Regions from separate parts of the Homo sapiens genome. Here region 1 is linked to region 2. Evidence: promoter capture Hi-C in human tissues and cell types (Jung and others, 2019). All regions are on one chromosome and are shown on one strand. The core of a region is centred on a gene start or on the middle of the fragment in contact, and the rest is flanking DNA. Distances in the headings are between cores, read along the strand shown.

Evidence for each region. The method cuts DNA at HindIII sites, captures the fragments that hold promoters and counts their contacts. A contact is called where the count stands out against the background at its distance.
Region 1: a fragment that was not itself captured here is called in contact with the fragment with the promoter of ZNF837 in region 2 in 1 of the 25 tissues and cell types used here (dorsolateral prefrontal cortex).

Annotation. Positions count from the first base shown.
Region 1 is chr19:57,368,493-57,372,504 of GRCh38, forward strand. ZNF547 (zinc finger protein 547) reads left to right here. Exons shown (of 4, transcript NM_173631.4): 2 at 52-87; 3 at 3,290-3,416. The coding sequence starts at 64. Among named protein-coding and RNA genes, the nearest start is that of ZNF547, 6.9 kb to the left of the region's middle. The HindIII fragment of the contact is 8,803 bases long and covers 1-4,012 here.
Region 2 is chr19:58,379,515-58,383,224 of GRCh38, forward strand. ZNF837 (zinc finger protein 837) reads right to left here and starts at 1,516. Exons shown (of 3, transcript NM_138466.2): 1 at 1,427-1,516. RefSeq lists enhancers at 240-781, 598-827, 782-1,323, 858-917 and a silencer at 1,268-1,777. The HindIII fragment of the contact is 47,170 bases long and covers 1-3,710 here.

The sequences.
Region 1 (4,012 bases), core at 1-2,500, 1.0 Mb before region 2:
GTAAGATCTTCCCATCGTTGCCCATTTCTCACGGTTTCCCTCTTCCTTCAGGGTCCCCTGGCGATGGCAGAAATGAACCCTGCACAGGTGAGTGGAGTGTTTTCTACCTTTCACCTACCAGTTATCTCATAGATGGTTTTGGCACCTCCATGTAAAGAAAAGTGGTGTCCAGAGACTCTCTTTCTGTCTTTCTCCCTCTCTTATGTCTGAAAAGTGAGTGATTCCACCAGTTCTAGTATCTTAAATTAGGTCTGGGATTTTTGTTTGATTGTTTTAAGTTTACTGTGACACCTTACCTGGATGGCCCTGGATTATGTGGAGTGGCTCCCATTTTTGACAGTTGACGTGGTAACATCTGTCAGAGTGTCATGGGCACAAGATTAAGAATGTTTCAGTGTTTAGAGGAGAGACTGAACTGGATTTTTAGGGAACTGCAAGTGTCTGTTATATCGGATAGGAATAGGGAGCAGAGTGGGAGGTGGCTAGAGACACACAAACATCAGGCCTGGAATGACAGCCTAGGTCCTGGGTCTCTAATCTAAGGGAGGTGGTAGATGGGGAAGATTTGAAGCAGAAGAGGGCAGTGATAGGACCCTAGCTTAAGGAACTTTCTTTGGCGTCTGAGTGGAGGACAGACTGTGGAGGTGAGGGTAATGGCAGGGAGATCTGAGAGGATGTTCCTGCAGCAGTCTAGGTGGATGTTGGTGGTGACTTGTCAAGAGTAGCGGTGGCTTCAGGATGTGTTTTGAACTGGAGCTGCCCACATTTTATGATGTAGAGAGTGAGGCAGCTGGGGGGGTGGGATAGAAGGGGAATCAGGAGTGGCCCCATGGTTTTTGTTTGGAAGCATAGATGCTCCATCAGCTAAGATGGGAGAAGTCAGCAGTATTAGGAATTTTCAGAGTGAGTGTGAGGAGTCAGTGTTTGTTCAAGCCACAGATGTCTCAGAGACTCCTGGTGGAGGAGTTCAGGTTGGAGACGTCCACACTATGGTGGCTGTCGTATGGACCAGGATGAAGCCATGGATTCAGTTTAGGTGACAGCATCTCTAGGTTATGGTGGCAGTGCTGTTCGAAGACAGAGAATTGGAATGGGGCATGAGAACTGGGTCTCTTACTGGGTAGCTGTGCAGTGGTGGAGGAGTCACTAGACAAATGAGGGAATGGAGTGTTTGTGGGGATGAGTGTATGTGAGATGGTGGGGTATAGGAGTGAGAAAGACTTCTGAAGGAGAGTGGACATGATGGGGTTGCTGAGGAGGGTAATAGGGTGAGGTCGGAGAGTTGCTAAGCATCAGTTGGAATGAGATGAGGATGGGAATTCTATTAGTCTGTTTTCATATTGCTACAAAGAACTACCTGAGACTGGGTACTTTATGAAGAAAAGAAGTTTAATTGACTCACAGTTCTTTTTTTTTTTTTTTTTTTTTTTTGAGATGTGGCCCAGGCTGGAGTGCAGTGGCACAATCTCGGCTCACTGCAATCTCTCCCTGCCAGGTTCAAGCGATTCTTCTGCCTCAGCCTCCTGAATAGCTGGGACGACAGACTCACCCCACTACGCCCAGCTAATTTTTGTATTTTTAGTAGAGATGGGCTTTCACCATGTTGGCCAGGATGGTCTTGATCTCCTGACCTCGTGATCCATCCTCCTCAGCCTCCCAAAGTGTTGGGATTACAGGCGTGAGCCACCGCACCCAGCCCATAGTTCTTCAGGCTTAACAGGAAGCATAACTCGGAGGCCTCAGGAAACTTACAATCCTGTGTCCATGAGGCAGGACACAGCTGAGAGTATGTGAAGTCCTCACATGGTTTGGGCACCTGACAGTGAAGTGAGAAACAGGGCCATGTAGGGAACCTTCAACCCAGGGCTTAGGGCTGCCCCCGGTGCTAGGGAACTTTGGTGTTCTGGGGCAGGACTGGGAGTGAATTGGATGCTGAGCGTATTTGCCGTGCACCACCTGGTTTCTGTGTGCAGAGTGGCCTGTTAGGAGGTGAAGGAAATGCCTGTGGTGTGGGCTGGGAGGTGTCTGTGGAATTGACTGGAGTGGAGGTGTGAGAGATGGGATTGGAGTGCTGTCCAAAGAGTGATGTGCAGGCAGGAGGAGTGTGAATGGAGGGCCTCAGGCCCTGGCCCTGGTAGCTCAAGGGAGGAGGATGAGTCTGAGTTTGGTTGTCTTGGGAGGCAAGATCTGGGTGACTCCATGGAAACTGGCTGGCAGGAGAGGATGGATCCCCCCACGGGAGGCCCACATTCCTTTTCTACCTTATCTTCCATCTGTTTCCTCTGTGTGCTGGACACGGTGGCCAATGTCAATATGGAGAGAAAAGTCACTCATGCCACCTGGATGTGGTTTCTCTTCCACATTGGGAGGGTGTAGAGATTGAGGAAGGAAAGGAGGTGTAGGGGAGAGGGATGAGTTCCTGGAGAGAGAAAAGTAGCAGTGATTGTACCCATTGGGGTTTTTTGTTTTTTTTTTTTTAGATGGAGTCTTGCTGTGTTGTCACCCAGGCTGGAGTGCAGTGGCATGATCTTGGCTCACTGCAACCTGCACCTCCTGGATTCAAGCAGTTCTGCCTCAATCTCCCAAGTAGCTAGGACTACAGGCATGTGCCGCCATGCCCACCTAATTTTTGTATTTTTAGTAGAGATGGGATTTCACTGTGTTGGCCAGGCTGGTCTTGAACTCCTGACCTCAGGTGATCTGCCCGCCTCAGCCTCCCAAAGTGCTGGGATTATAGGCATGAGCCACTGTGCCTGGCCCCCATGGAGTTTTAATTTATGGATGTGAGTGAGTGATGCCAGGGACAGGCCAATGACACTGAAAGAAGATATTTATTCCTTACGTTTCCCTAAGGAGGTTACATACCACATAACACAGGGCCACACGGTGAAACACCAGATTTGATCAGGAGGAAAATTGGAGTGAGTTTAGTTTAGTCCACAGATGCTGTTGGGGTTTCCAAGGGAAACAAGGCAGGGCTGGCTGTCAGGATAGTTTGGCTAGTTTTAGTAATTCCAGGACACCTGGGCTATTGGGACTGTCCCTAGTTGTGCAGTACCTGTCCCTGGGTTGATTTAGAGCATGGGAAATACTGACTTGGTTTGAGAAAGTTAGAGATGGAGATGGTTAAGAATATGTGCCCAGGATGGTAGGGGAGATGGAAACACATTTAGCTGTTAGTTTGTCCCTGTGTTTAATGGGTGGTAAATATAAGTAGAAAATAAATAGAGAACTTAAGTAAATACAGTTTGAAAAGCTGCTCATGTATTCATCTTTCCCAATTTGGCAGGGTCATGTGGTTTTTGAAGACGTGGCCATATATTTCTCCCAGGAGGAGTGGGGGCATCTCGATGAGGCTCAGAGATTGCTGTACCGTGATGTGATGCTGGAGAATTTGGCCCTTTTGTCCTCACTAGGTAAGGCCCTCACACTTGCCCAGTGTCCTGGGTTGGGCTGTGTTGTCTCCTTTTACCTGAAGGCAGCTCTGCGTTTCCCACAGTGAGACCATGGGTGCTGCTTCTTTTCCTTGTTTCCTGACATATGTTCCATGAGAGTCAGGACTGCAATATGTGCTGTGTGCTTCCTTTTTCCTGGCAGCCCCATCCTCTGCTGTTCTGAGGCTTGCAAGAAAGGGCTCAGGATCCAGAAATGTTGAAGGTGACATAGAGACCCACTGGCCCTGTGTTCTATTCAAATGCATGAGACCTCTGTGCTCTGTTGTTCCCTTGCTCTTGCCAATATTTCTTGGTCCCTTCTTGTTCCTGGAATTTCTGGCACTGACCTGATCACTAATTTGGTGAACCACTGGCTTGATTGTGTAGGATGTAGAAATCTTCTGTGAAGTTCTGGTGATTATCGAATGTGAGATATCATCAGGTGATCTCTCTGGGAATGTGCTGTCTTGTCTCTTTCTGTGTCTTTCCCCTAGGACTGGTCTCTTTCAGGTCTCACAGACTGTCACCTTAAGCAATGGGGAGGGCCCTGGTACCCAAGAGGGTGGATATTACTCCCT
Region 2 (3,710 bases), core at 266-2,765:
CTCTGGGTCCCAGGTCCCAGGAGCCCGTCCTTGATGGTGCATTACAGCTCTCCCAGGCTGTTCTTACAGTGACCTCCCACCTGCCCCAGGTGAGCATGCTTGCACCTGGGTGCTCGCCCAGCCTTTCTAGTTGTCCTTAGGGCTTCTGGTGTTGGGAACAGGATGCAGAGTTACCAATTTAGGGGGACTGAGAGGTTAACGTGGCCAAGGCTGAGCCCTGCAGAACTGCAGAGCAACAGCACACACAGGAAAGCTAGTGAGGTTCAACATCCTCATGGAGGTTGCACACGGCACAATGAGGTCTTATTTGCCCAAGAGAATGTGCAGGGAAGTCGCCAGGCACGGTGGTGCATGCCTGTAATCCCAGCTACTCGGGAGGCTGAGGCTGGAGAATCGCTTGAACCCGGGAGGCGGAGGTTGCAGTGAGCCGAGATCGCGCCACTGCACTCCAGCCTGGGCAACAAGAGCGAAACTCCGTCTCAAAACAACAACAACAACAACAACAACAAAAACAGAATGTGCAGGGAAGTCAACGTTGGTGGCTCTGAGGTGTGGAGGACACAGGCTAGTGCCCAGCTCAGCGTGGCTCCACCTCTCTGAGCCACAGACCAACCTCACCCACACTGACAGTCCCAGGGGACACAGACTCTAGCCCCTATGTCCAATTCTACACTGTGCACGCAATGGGAAGAACAGTGCATCATGCACTGTACAGCAGAAGAAATGTCCTCTGAGTGCAGGCACAGCTCCCTTCTGTGTCTGTCCTCCCGACAGTGCCTCCACCCTCAAGGATTAGCAAGCTTCAACCCTCGCAGGACATCCACTGTGTCAGGGCCAAACGGTGCTGCATCCTGCTCTAATAGTGAGTGAAGGAGGGGACCGCAGACAAGAAGAAATGAACAAGAGACCGTTTAAGAGAGAAAAAGACGTGAAGAACATCAGACAGGGAGCAGCGCGAGGGCGCCAGGGAGGGAGGCAGCGGATTCTTCGGGCCTCTGTGAAGAGGGGGCATGAAACCGGTCTGCAGACAAGGAAAGAGCAAAGTGCAAAGGCCAGGATGCGGGGGCAGAGACGGTAGGGAGGCCGGCGTCGGCCTCGGCTAGCAGGTGGGCTTGACTCCGAGAGCCGCAGGCCGCCAGGATGGGTCCCGGGCCTGGAGCCTCCCCTCGCGGGCTTCAATGACACCCAGCACGGAAACGCGGGGGCCAGAACTACAGAAGCCCGTCCCGCCCGGAACTCAAGGTCGCGAGTGCTGTGTGGCCGGTCCGGACCCGGAGCGCGAGGACCGGAAGTGCGCGGCGTCACGCCTCTGCCCCGGACCCCGCGCGCGGAGGTGGAGAGGGGACTGGGGTGGTGGCCGCGCTATGCGCCGGGAGGTCCCCGCCTCGCAGGCCGAGGTTGCGGGTCCGCGCAGAATGCCACTTACTCTCTGGAGGCGGCCCGCACGGGTCCCTGGTCCCCGCCCCGCATGCAGCGCGGAGCCGTCCTCCCGCCACCTCCGGGCCGCCGCGGCACTGAGGGACCCGGGCCACAGCAAGCGCAGGCGGGAACCCGCGCGGGGACTGCTGGGAAACGTAGTCCCGTCATGTCCCGCTTTGACGCTGCGGAGAAAGCGGTGTAGGGAGAGGCTTGGGCTTCGGTTATCATAGAAACAGAGGCCGGCTACACCTAAAAGGCGGGGCGTGGACCTAAGTCGTCGCCAAAGAAACGGCGTTCTGGACGGGGACGTAGGGTCCCGCCCATTCCTTCTCGTGAAAGCGGGTGACTGGTCATGATTATGATTGATAGCCTCCTCTCCCAATCTGATTTCTAAGAGGTCCCAACCCGGAACCGACTTGCGGTTCGCAGGCTCCCCTCGGGTGGGAGAGTTGGGCTGGGAAGCACCTGGGGAGCTCTGAAGTGTCTTGGTGAGCGCGTTGCGAGTCAGACCGATAACATCAGAATCTGGGACTGGGCCCGAGCATATGCGCGTCAAAACTCCTCAGTTAAGTCTATTTTTTTGTATTTTTTTTGGTTTGCTTTTTTGAGACGGGGTCTCGCTCTGTCGCCCAGGCTAATGCAGTGACACCATCACGGTTCACTGCAGCCTCGACCTCCTGAGCTCAAGCGATCCTCCTACTTCAGCCTCCAGAGTAGCTGTTAACAGGGGCGCGCGCCACCACGCCCGGCTAATTTTCTTTCTTCTCTCCCTCCCCCTCCTTCTCCCCCTCCCTTCCTCCTCCCACTATGTCGCCCAGGCTGGTCTCGAACTCCTGTACTGAAGCGACCCTCCCACCTCACCCTCCCGAATAGCTGGGACTATAGGTGGGAGCCACCATGCCTGGATAGTTTTTTTATTTTTATTTATTTATTTATTTTAGAGATAGGGTCTCCATATGTTGCCCAGACTGGTCTGGAACTCCTGGGCTCAAGCGATCCTCGTGTCTCAGCCTTCCAGAGTGCTGGGAGTACAGGCTTGAGCCACTGCGCCAGGCCCCTAGTCCGGCTCCTAGTTGATTCTAACACGTGCGGCCCCATTGGGGAACCACAGCCTCCCCAGCCCCTTTGGGTGTTGCTGACTCTACGGGCCCTCCCAGGTAGGATGAACTGGTCACGCCTCCTACCCATTTGTAACCCCCAGCTCTTGCCCCCATCTATTGTGTGGCTCCTGCCCTCAATAGGGACATCTAATTTTGTTGGCCAGTCCAGCACATATATTGCATGTAACGACCCAGTTTGCCCCACCTTTCTGCCTCCACTGCATCTGCTTCAGGGATGCTGGGACTGTTCCACTCCCTTTCTCCATCCTTTGGGTGTCTGCACATCGAAAGCCTTGTCAGGAGGTCTATCTCCCTGCCCAAGTACAAAACTCAGGGCTTACCAAGCTAATTGAGGGCGAGCAGGAGGCTGAAGGGCACTTGGAGGGCTGCCCGCCTTGTGGGTCCCTTGGTGGCTGAAGAGAGTTGCACAGGAAGGCCTTGACAATTGTCACAGAGAAAGGAGTGCAGCTGCTGGCTCTGTGTGGGTGTGCAGATGTCTGACAGGTTCAGCCACTGGCCCCAATTGGGACACAAGTGGGATTTCTTTTTTTTTTTCTTTTTTGAGACAGTCTTGCTCTGTTGCCCAGGCTGGAGTGCAGTGGCCGCGATCTCAGCTCACTGCAACTTCCGCCTCCCAGGTTCAAGCAGTTCTCTGCCTCAGCCTCCCGAGTAGCTGGGATTATAGGTGCCCACGACCTCGCCCGGCTAATTTTTGTATTTTTAGTAGAGATGGGGTTTCACCATCTTGGCCAGGCTGGTCTTGAATTCCTGACCTCATGATCCACCCGCCTCGGCCTCACAAAGTGCTGGGATTCAGGCATGAGCCACTGCACCCGGCCTGACACAAGTAGGATTTCTCACACCTGTGGATGCACTGCTACTGGAGGAGTCTTGAGCCTATGTGGAAGAACTTCCCACTCCCAGGCACAGAAAGGGCCTCCCTCTGGAGTGAAGATTCTGGTGGTACCACAGGCCTGGCCACCACACAAAGGCCTTGTCCCTGCAGGGCTGGCATGGGGTGACTGGCAGCCCTGGAGTGGAGTTTGAAGCACCAATGAAAGGCCTAACCACTTGGCAGGCACAGGTGCGGGGGACTTGTCTGGAGGGGACCGGCTATGGGGGCTGTGACAGTCTGTAGGCTTTCTTCACTTCTACACAAGCCTGTTGTCTAAGTGGACCCTGCAGGGTTCA